Regions from separate parts of the Homo sapiens genome. Here region 2 is linked to region 1. Evidence: promoter capture Hi-C in human tissues and cell types (Jung and others, 2019). All regions are on one chromosome and are shown on one strand. The core of a region is centred on a gene start or on the middle of the fragment in contact, and the rest is flanking DNA. Distances in the headings are between cores, read along the strand shown. Region 1 holds the start of COQ3 (coenzyme Q3, methyltransferase). Region 2 has its middle 170 kb from the start of PRDM13.

Region 1 (4,828 bases), core at 2,009-4,508:
CTTTTTGTAGTCTCTGCATACTTTTCTCCTGAGCTTATGTTTATTTGGTTTTATTTTTTAATCAGCCCTTCACAGTCCATCCCAAACCCATTACAATGTTCTTTTTTAATAAAGTTCATGTGTCTAGGCTTTTGCTCATTTTATTTATTTATTTATTTATTTATTTATTTATTTATTTATGAGACAGGGTCTCGTTGTGTTGCCCAGGCTGGAGTGCAGTGGTGGGTTCACGGCTCACTGTAGCCTCTACCTCCTGGGCTCAAGTAATCCTCCTACCTTAGCCTATCCAGTAGCGAGGTCCACAGAAGCACACCACCATGCCTGGCTAAATTTTGTATTTTTTTTTTTGTAGAGACAGGGTTTTGCTATGTTGCCCAGGCTGGTTTCAAACTCCTGAGCTCAAGCGATCCACCTGCCTCGACCTCCCAAAGTGCCGGGATTAAAGGTGCTCGGCCAGGCTTTTGTTCATTTTATTTCCCTTTCCACCAACTCTATCTGGACTACCTTTTAAGACCCAGTTCAAATATCACCTCCTGTATGACTTTAGGTAGATACATGAGATATTATTAAAGAATAAAGTTTAACTATGTAAACCATGATACATCGATAACGACATATAAGGTATTACTATTATGAAACTAAGCCTTAGAAATTTTAACAATATCTGCTTTTACGGACAGACAACCCTTGATCTCTCTCTTACCTCCTCTATTTCTGGAAAATGAATCCCTAAGTCATCAGTATTGCTACAATTCTCAAGAGGTTTAAAAATCATCTTAGGCCAGACGCAGTGGCTCAATGCCTGTAATCCCATCACTTTGGGAGACCAAGGTGGGCGGCCTGCTTGAGCCCAGGAGTTCAAGACCAGCCTGGACAATGTGGTGAAACCCCTTCTCTACTAAAAATATAAAAATTAGCCATGCATTGTGGTGCCTGCCTGTAGTCCCAGCTACTTGGGAGGCTGAGGTGGGAGGACCAATTGAGCCAGGGAGGCCAAGGCTGCCGTGAACTGTGGTCATGCCACTGCACTCTAACCTGGGATACAGAGCAAGACCTTTTCTCAAAAAAAAAAATTAATTAATCTAAAAAGTAAAAATAAAAACCACTCTACCACCTTACCACAACGGAAAGAGAGTAATTGAGTTTGTATTTAAACAGAATGCTACCAATTCCTTCTCTACCTTGAATCTGTGATCATCCTGGTATTTGAAATTTTAAAGGAATGGGAAAAGGTTTTTTTCATTTTATTTATTGAAAAGTCATTTATTCAGCACCTACCAGGCACCATGCTGATGGTGAATAAAACAGGTGACAGACTTTTACCCTACCAATACTTTATTTCCAGCAATGATAATTTACTGTCTGGATTGCTCTAAGGTCTTCCTGGGCCTAGACTTGCCTGACTCCATCCCACATTCTATGTAGACAGCTGCCAAGTGTTATTTCTTAAACATAAATCTGTTCATGTTGCTTCTTCAGTGATTTCCACTGTCCGCGGGATAGTCTACCTCAGGAGGTGTAAATGGCCTTTCATGAATGTGTCATGGCCAAAAAGGCCTCTTCCTCATCCCTTGCCACCCCCTGCCTTTACCTTCTGCCCTCCACCTACACACTTTACTTTTCAAGGAACCTTGCAGTTTCTCACAAACTTTCTCACAGATTCTCGAGCTGGTCCTTTCCCCTCTCCAACTGCTTTTTTTTTTTTTTGAGACAGAGTCTCACTCTGTTGCTCAGGCTGGAGTGCAATGGTGTGATCTTGGCTTACTGCAACCTCTGCCTCCCAGGTTCAAGCGATTCTCCTGCCTCAGCCTCCCGAGTAGCTGGGATTACAGGCGCCTGCCGCCACGCCCAGCTAATTTTGTATTTTTAGTAGATAGGGTTTCACCATGTTGGCCAGGCTGGTCTCGAACACTTGACCTCAAGTGAGCTGCCTGTCTCGACCAACTGCTTCTAAAACTGGCCACCTCCTTCAAGATTTCTCTAAATATCCCATTCAAGAAGTTTCCTTGATCCCAAATATGGATTAAATGCTCCTTCTATGTTCACCCCTCAAAAATTGGAACTAGGTTTATTATATCTTTTCTAAATTTTTGATTATAAAAGACACATGTTTACTAAAAAAAGTTCAGAAAAAGAAAAGTATATAAAGGATAAAATGATAGAAAATCACCTACTCTACCACAGGCAATCACTGCAAAATTTCTCTATATATCTCCACCTGTAACTCCAAGTTCACTATACATACTGATTTGTAACTTTTTTTTTTTTTTGGCTCCTTCCAGGAAACAATGAAACTTTACTTTCTTAACACTATATCTTACTACTTTTCCATGTGGGTACAAATAGATTTAAATCATTTTTATTGGCTGTACTATTTTTCACTGTATGATAGTACCAACTAATAACCTTTATTAATGGGCGGTTAGATTCCCCATTTTTTTGTTCATTATATCCTGATCTTAGGTTTATCCTAACATTTTTAAAGAGATCCTTGCGGTGTCATTCATTTTTAAATTCCCAGTGCTCATACCAGTGTCTGGCATACAGTATTTGTTAAGAGTTCCATGTGAAAGATGAGCTTAAGTTTCTACTTAATACTGAGAGTTCGAAAATCAGACTGCTGTCTACAAGCACTGAGCAGTGCATTATTTTCTTGATCTCATTTGCAAATGCAGTCTGTTGGATTAACCTATTAATCAAAAAGTAATACAGCTGCCTTAAATTCTTTCTGAAAAAAACAGCAAGCTTTGTGCAAACAAAACACAGATACAAAGCTATGCATAACTACGAGGCGTGAGTTATTCCTGCCCCGGCAAAGGAAAGATGCATGACCTTCAGACTGCAGCACACGCAGAGCGGGTCGCCGGCTCCTGGGGCAAGGAGCTCAGCCACAAGAGACCCGCGGCCTGCGCTTTTCCAGACAGGACCACTGGTCCTGAGCTCTTTTCCCCGGCGTCCGCCAACGGGACTATGCGAGGTTTACAATGGAGAGAGATGGGGCCAGGACCAAGCCTTAGGTTTCGCGCTGACCCCTCGCGAGGTCCAGAGACAACCCACCGCCCCACCCCCGGCGCATGCGCAGAGACGCCAGCGCTCGCAATTGACTGCATGCGAAGGACCTCCGCACACACACTCACCCGCCGAGGAAATTAAGGGACGCGCAGCTTTTGTATTACAGCCTCCAGGCCCCAGCACTCTTAAAAACCAACCCCCGGAGGAGCCCAGCTTACGGCCACTCCACATCGCGACAAACGATCCCACCTCTTTTCCGGTCCCTCCCGAAAAAAGATCCCCAACATAAAGGTTCCGAGATCACTTTCGCCGTCTGCAGCCGACTTTTTTTTTTTTTTTTTTTTTTAGCAGAGTCTGTTCTGTTGCCCAGGCTGGAGTACAGTCCCCATCTCGGATTCTGGGATCACTGCAATCTCCGCCGCCCGGGTTCAAGCGATTCTCCATGTTGGCTGGTCTCGAACTCCTGACCTCAGGTTATCCGCCCGCCTTGGCCTCCCAAAGGGCTGGGATTACAGGCGTGAGCCACCGCGCCCGGCCTGCAGCCGACTTTCATGATTGTATTGTTGAGTGTTATGTATGTATGGCTATACTTTCACGCTCATTTAGCAAATTGCACATGGAATTAAACTGCAAGATGTTTTTACTATCATAAACAACTTTGAAGATACTTTATTGCTATAGGACACCTCAAACCTCATGTTCGAAGTTGACCTCAATCAGGCCATTACTTCGTGCTGTGTCTTCTTTTATTGCCATGTAGCTCTATTTCACACTTAACAGATGTCTCTTCAAGGACTTTTATATTCCTGTAAGACATTGACCCTACTGCTAAGAATGCAAGAGTATGGGAGCACTTCTTCCTCAAGGGAAGAATTGTTTCCCCTTTCAAGGCACTCAAATATCAGATGGCCAGAAGGCCAAATGTAAAACTTATTTTCTGCAAATGACTATTATCTTGTACAGGGTATATACATCATGTAGTAGGAGGCTTCTGTGGCTCAGTCTAGGCAAACTTCATTTAGAGCTAGGAACAGTGATCAGTAACATTTTACGTCTAAATGCACAAAGTCTTTCTTTGGGTAAGAACAATGACGAATCTCCAACATTGAAGACAAAAAATTATTCTGTATTTTCAACAGGTAGGGTCAAATTGGTAAAGGGTTCTTTCAGTTAGCGAAATTTACCGCTCAGGAATCTTTTTTTTTCTTTTTTTTTTGAGACAGCCTCACTCGGTTGCTCAGGCTGGAGTGCAGTGGTAGGATCTCAGCTCATTGCAACCTCCGTCCCCCAGGCTCGGGTGATTCTTCGTGCCTCAGCCTCGTAAGTAGCTGGGATTACAGGTGTATGCTGCCATTCCCGGCTTAATTTTTGTATTTTCAGTCAGGGTTTCACCATGTTGGCCAGGCTGGTCTCAAGCTCCTGACCTCAGGTGATCTGCCTGCCTCAGCCTCCCAAAGTGCTGGGATTACAGGTGGGAGCCACCTCACCCAGACAGCAATAGTCTTTCATTCATGGTTCTTAGCTAAAATATTGACCTCCTCCTAAGGGTGGTCGCACTTTTCAGTTGCTATGTCCTCTTCAGAGCTCCTCTACCCTTAGATACATGATCCTCTCTCCACATGAAGGCAGAAAGCTCTGCACAAAAGAAAATGTAGCACGTCTTGTATTTATTGGAGTGACACATCCAAGGAAAAAGCAAAGTGCAAGCACAATTAAATAAAGTTCTAGGAGCTTTATATGTACTTTCTTTGAAGGTACCACACTTCACTGGGCTTCAGAGCCTTTCCACTACATTTTAACAAGAAGGGGAATCAAT
Region 2 (4,941 bases), core at 855-3,354, 390 kb after region 1:
CATTTTAACACTGCTTTAGCTGCAGCCCAGAGATTCTGGTACGTTGTCATTTTGTTGTCATTGGTTTCAAAGAACTTCTTGATTTCTGCCTTAATTTCATTATTTATGCAGGAGTCATTCAGGAGCAGGTTGTTAATTTCCATGTAGCTGTGTAGTGTTGAGTGTTTCTTAATCTTGAATTCTAATTTGATTGTGCTGTCTGAGAGACTGTTATGATTTCAGTTCTTTTGCATTTGCTGAGGAGTGTTTTACTTCCAATTATATGATCAATTTTAGAGTAAGTGCAATGTGGCAATGAGAAGAATATATATTCTGTTGTTTTTGGGTGGAGGGTTCTGCTGATATCTATCAGGTCCACTTGATCCAGAGCTGAGTTTAGGTCCTGAATATCTTTGACTTTATCACTGAGACATTTCTGTCTCGATGATCTGTCTAATACTGTCACTGGGATGTTAAAGTCTCCCACTTTTATTGTGTGAGAGTCTAAATCTCTTTGTAGGTCTCTAAGAACTTGCTTTATGAATCTGAGTGCTCCTGTATTGAGTGCAAGAAGTACAAGCTCTTCTTTTTGAATGGAACCCTTAACCATTATGTAACGCCCCCCCTGCCTCCGCCTTTTTTTTTTTTTTTTTTTAACCTTTGTTGGTTTAAAGTCTGTTTTTTTGGAAACTAGGATTGCAACTCCTGCTTTTTTTTCTATTTTCCATTTGCTTGGTAAATTTTCCTCCATCCCTTTGTTTTGAGCCTATATGTGTCTTTGCAATTGAGATGGGTCTTTTGAAGACAGCATACTGATGGGTCTTGGCTCATTATACAGCTTGCCATTCTGTGTCTTTTCATTGGGGCATTTAGCCCATTGACATTTAAGGTTAATATTGTTATGTGTGAATTTGATCTTGTTATCATGATGCTAGCTGGTTATTTTGCAGACTTGTTTATGTGGTTGCTTCATAGCATCATTGGTCTGTGTACTTCAGTGTGTTTTTGTAATGGCTGGTAATAGTTTTTCCTTTCTATATTTAGTGCTTCCTTCAGGAGCTCTTGCAAGGCAGGCCTGGTGGTAATGAATTCCCTCAGTATTTGCATATCTGAAAAGGATCTTATTTCTCCTCCAATTATAAAGCTTAGTTTGGCCAGATATGAAATTCTGGGTTTTGGGAGGCTGAGGAGGGCAGATCACTTGAGCCCAGGAGTTTGAGACCAGCCTGGGCAAGATGGAGAAACCCCATTTCTACAAAAAATTATGAAAAACTAGCCAATGCGGTGGTGCTGCACATTTGTAGTCCCAGCTACTTAGGAGGCTGATGTGGGAGAATAACTTGAGGCTGGGAGGTTGAGGCTGCAGTGAGCTGTGATTGTGCCACTGTATTCCAGCCTGGGTGACAGAATGAGATGCTGTCTGAAAAAAAAAAATAGAATTTCTGGGTTGGAATTTGGAACTTCTTTGCTTTAAGAATGTTGAATATTGGTCCCCAATCTCTTCTGGCTTGTGGGTTTCTACCGAGAGGTCTGCTGTTAGTGTGATGGACTTCCTTTTTTAGGTGACCTGACCTCTCCCTCTAGCTGCATTTAGCATTCTTTCTTTCATTTAGTCCTTGGAGAAGCTGATGATTATATGTCTTGGGGATGATCTTGTTGTGAAGTATCTTCCTGAGGTTCTCTGGATTGCCTGAATTTGAATGTTGGCCTCTCTAGCTAGGTTGGGGAAATTCTTATGGATAATATCCTGAAATATGTTTTCCAAGTTGCTCCCATTCTCCCATTTCTTTCAGGGGCACCAATGAGTCATAGATGTGGTCTCTTTACATAATCCCATATTTCTCGTACGTTTGTTTATTCCTTTTCGTTCTTTTTTCTCTACTCTTGTCTGTCTTATTTCTTAAAGCAGCTCTTCAAGCTCTGAGATTCTTTCCTCAGCTTTATCTATTTTGCTTTCAATTCTTGGGATTGCATTATGAAATTCTTGTATTGTGTTTTTCAGCTCTATCAGGTTAGTTACATTATTTCCTATATGGGTTATTTTGTCTGTCAGATATCGTATCATTTTGTTGTGATTCTTACCTTTCTTGAATTGGGTTTTAGTGTACTCCTGCATCTCAATGATCTTCATTCCTATCCATATACTGAATTCTATTTCTGTCATTTCAGCCATCTCAGCCCAGTTCAGAACCCTTGCTAGAGAGGCAGTGTGGCCATTTGGAAGAAAGAAGGCAGTCTGGCTTTTTGAGTTGTCAGAGTTCTTGCACTGGTCCTTTCTCATCTTTGTGGGCTGGTATTCCTTCATTCTTTGAAATTGCTTTCCTTTGGATGGGTTTTTATCCTTTTATCCTTTTTGATGACCTTGAAGGTTTGATTGTAGTATAAGGTAGGTTCAGTTTGTTGGCTTCATCTGTAAGATTTTGGAGGCCCAAGGCTTAGCTCCCAACTGCATGCTCTAACTCTGGGTGACTTGTATCTGTCCTTGACTTTGTTCTCTAGTTCCTTGAGCTTAGAAACCCACAGTGGTGGGGGGAGAAGGTGCTCTCAGACTACTGGTCACTACATTTTGATGGGTGGTGGCAGCCAAAGTGTTTTATAGAGTGGTGGCAGCAGCATCCATCCTTGTTCGCATGTGTTAGCAGCAGCGGCAGTGGCAGTGCAGCGGGGCACACACTTGTCGGCTGCAGTGGGGTGCTAGCGGGTGCTGGGGTGTCTGCCCCTGTGCAGGCATTCACAGCAGCAGTGGAAGCAGCATGGCCTGGGGTGGTTGGGGGCGCCTGTTGGTGACTGTGTGTGTGGTTACACTGGTGGTGGTGCTAGCACAGGGGTGGGGACCTGGCAGGGGCAGGTCTGTATGTGCCTTTCTCTCTAGCTGCATTTGGCATTCTTTCTTTCATTTAAAGAAATGTAGGGGAGGGTTTGCTGTTCTTCATGCCTAGTTTCACTGGTGGCAGTGCTGGCTCTGGGGTGGGGCGCTTGTGCAGGTGGGGCTGGCTGGCTCTGTGTCCACCAAGGCTATGGCTGCAATGGTGGTATAGCAGGCAAGGGGGAGTGGGGTGCAGTCCCACTGGAAGCAGAGGCAGGGTGGGGTGGACATGCACATGTGCACTGGTAGGGCAGGGAAGGCAAAATCCACCCATGCACACACAGCCCAGCAATGAAATGTGAGAGGTGGCTGTGGACTCAGGGAAGCTGTAGTGTGGGGAGAGAGTGGGTAGGCTGATGTGTGGCCACAGGGGCTGGAGCTGGAGCTCTATGCCAGCACAGGAGCTATGATGTGGACCCTCGGGGCACCAGATGCTGCACTGCAAGCAGGTGTGGCCAGGCTGGGCCCTTGGAAGAGCCCAGCAGACCAAGGGGTGCTCAGGTCAGACTGGCCCTATCTGATGGCCAAGACCGCCCTGCAGAGCTCAGGTTGGACAGTTTTTCTGGGGCTAAAGTCTCCTATGGGAGCAAGTTGAGCCTTGGGGAATGGGTGTCCCTGGTCATGCTCTGCTACAAAGCTCCTGCACCAAACCCTCTGGGCTCTACATTGGCTGGCATGCTGCCCCTACCACTTCTCTGAGCAGTTCTCCCTGCTGGCTCAAGTGTCTGTAATAGTTAAGGAGTCTCCTCATGCCGGGATTCCGGAGGCCTGTGGTGAGAGTGGGTTGCTCCTTGCCAGCTCAAGTCACCCATTCCCCTGGAGTCACTGGGGGCCAAGAATGAGTCCCATTGCACGGTAGCCCCATGCAGGGTTCCCACTTCAGTTCAGCTCCTGTGTCTTCCCTCTATCCACTCCCTGCCTTCCCTCTGAAGATCTGTTAGGAGTGCACCAGCCGTCCTGTTCCCTCGGTAGCAGCTGTTCTACCTCAGTAGCGGCTGCATCTAGTTGTCCATCTTGCCAAATCTCCCTGGTTTTATTTTAACCTATTTGCGTCTTTATATTTGAAGTTTGTTTCTTGCAGGCAGCATATAGTTCGGTCTTATTGTTTTAAAAATCTAATTTGAAATCTCTGCTTTTAATTGGGATGTAGACTTTTTACGTTTAATGTAATTAAATGTAATTATTGATATGGTTAGGTTTAAATCAATTTCTTTGTGTTTGTTTTCTATTTGTCCCATGTGTTCTCTGTTTCCATTTCCCCTTTTGACTGTCTTCTTTTGGATTAAAAGAATATTTTTATATTTAGTTCATTTAGTTCAGTTTTTCTGTGTTTTAATAGACAGTTTTAAGTTTTAAACAGAAAGTATATATGCCAAATGTTAGGTTGACAAATTAATTGACCATAATTGTCAAAATTGCTGGTTATTAATTTATTTTTAGTTTTGGTGTGTGAAAATGTAAACCTGCACAAGTGCCATGGTCAATTACAGCATATTTGATGTGACCTAATTAGTACTGTGAGGAACCAACACATGGAAAAGCAAATGGGGACACATGCCAGGGACAAAACTGAATGTGATGTGAATACTAATTTTGGCTTTACATTGCTTTATTCATTAAAAACCTTCTTCAGATAAAACAGAACCAGACAGTTGTTGAATGCTTATGTGGCAGGGTCTGTGTAAGGTCCTTTCATGGACATTTATTTAATCCTCATGAGTCTGTGAGGGAGGCATAGTAGCCCCATTTTACAGATAAGGAAACAGCCTCAGCAAAGTTAACCGAACTGCCCAAAGCAATATATCCTATAGGAAACAGCTGGGGTTTAAATTCAGCTTTCTGACTCCAAGGTAACCTCAGTATATATTTTTTGCAATGTTAGTCTTACAAGATAATTAATTCCATTCCTCCACCACCCCCCCTTTTTTTTTTTTTAAAAAAAAAAAAAAAGGAATTCTCACAGGAAAGAAAACAAAAGAAAGCATATTTTTAAAGAACTTAGGTATTAGGTAAGATATCATTCACCATTCCTAGATGGGGCATCATGAAAATAAATCACAGATTTAAAAAAAAAAAAGAAAAAAACGCTTATATTC

The links. The method cuts DNA at HindIII sites, captures the fragments that hold promoters and counts their contacts. A contact is called where the count stands out against the background at its distance.
Region 2: a contact is called between a fragment that was not itself captured here and the fragment with the promoter of COQ3 in region 1, in 1 of the 25 tissues and cell types used here (lymphoblastoid cells).

Annotation. Positions count from the first base shown.
Region 1 is chr6:99,390,937-99,395,764 of GRCh38, forward strand. It overlaps COQ3 (coenzyme Q3, methyltransferase), which reads right to left and starts at 3,259. Exons shown (of 7, transcript NM_017421.4): 1 at 3,138-3,259. The coding sequence starts at 3,243. RefSeq lists an enhancer at 2,515-3,154. The HindIII fragment of the contact is 11,809 bases long and covers 1-4,828 here.
Region 2 is chr6:99,777,137-99,782,077 of GRCh38, forward strand. No RefSeq gene overlaps it. Among named protein-coding and RNA genes, the nearest start is that of PRDM13, 170 kb to the left of the region's middle. The HindIII fragment of the contact is 3,860 bases long and covers 175-4,034 here.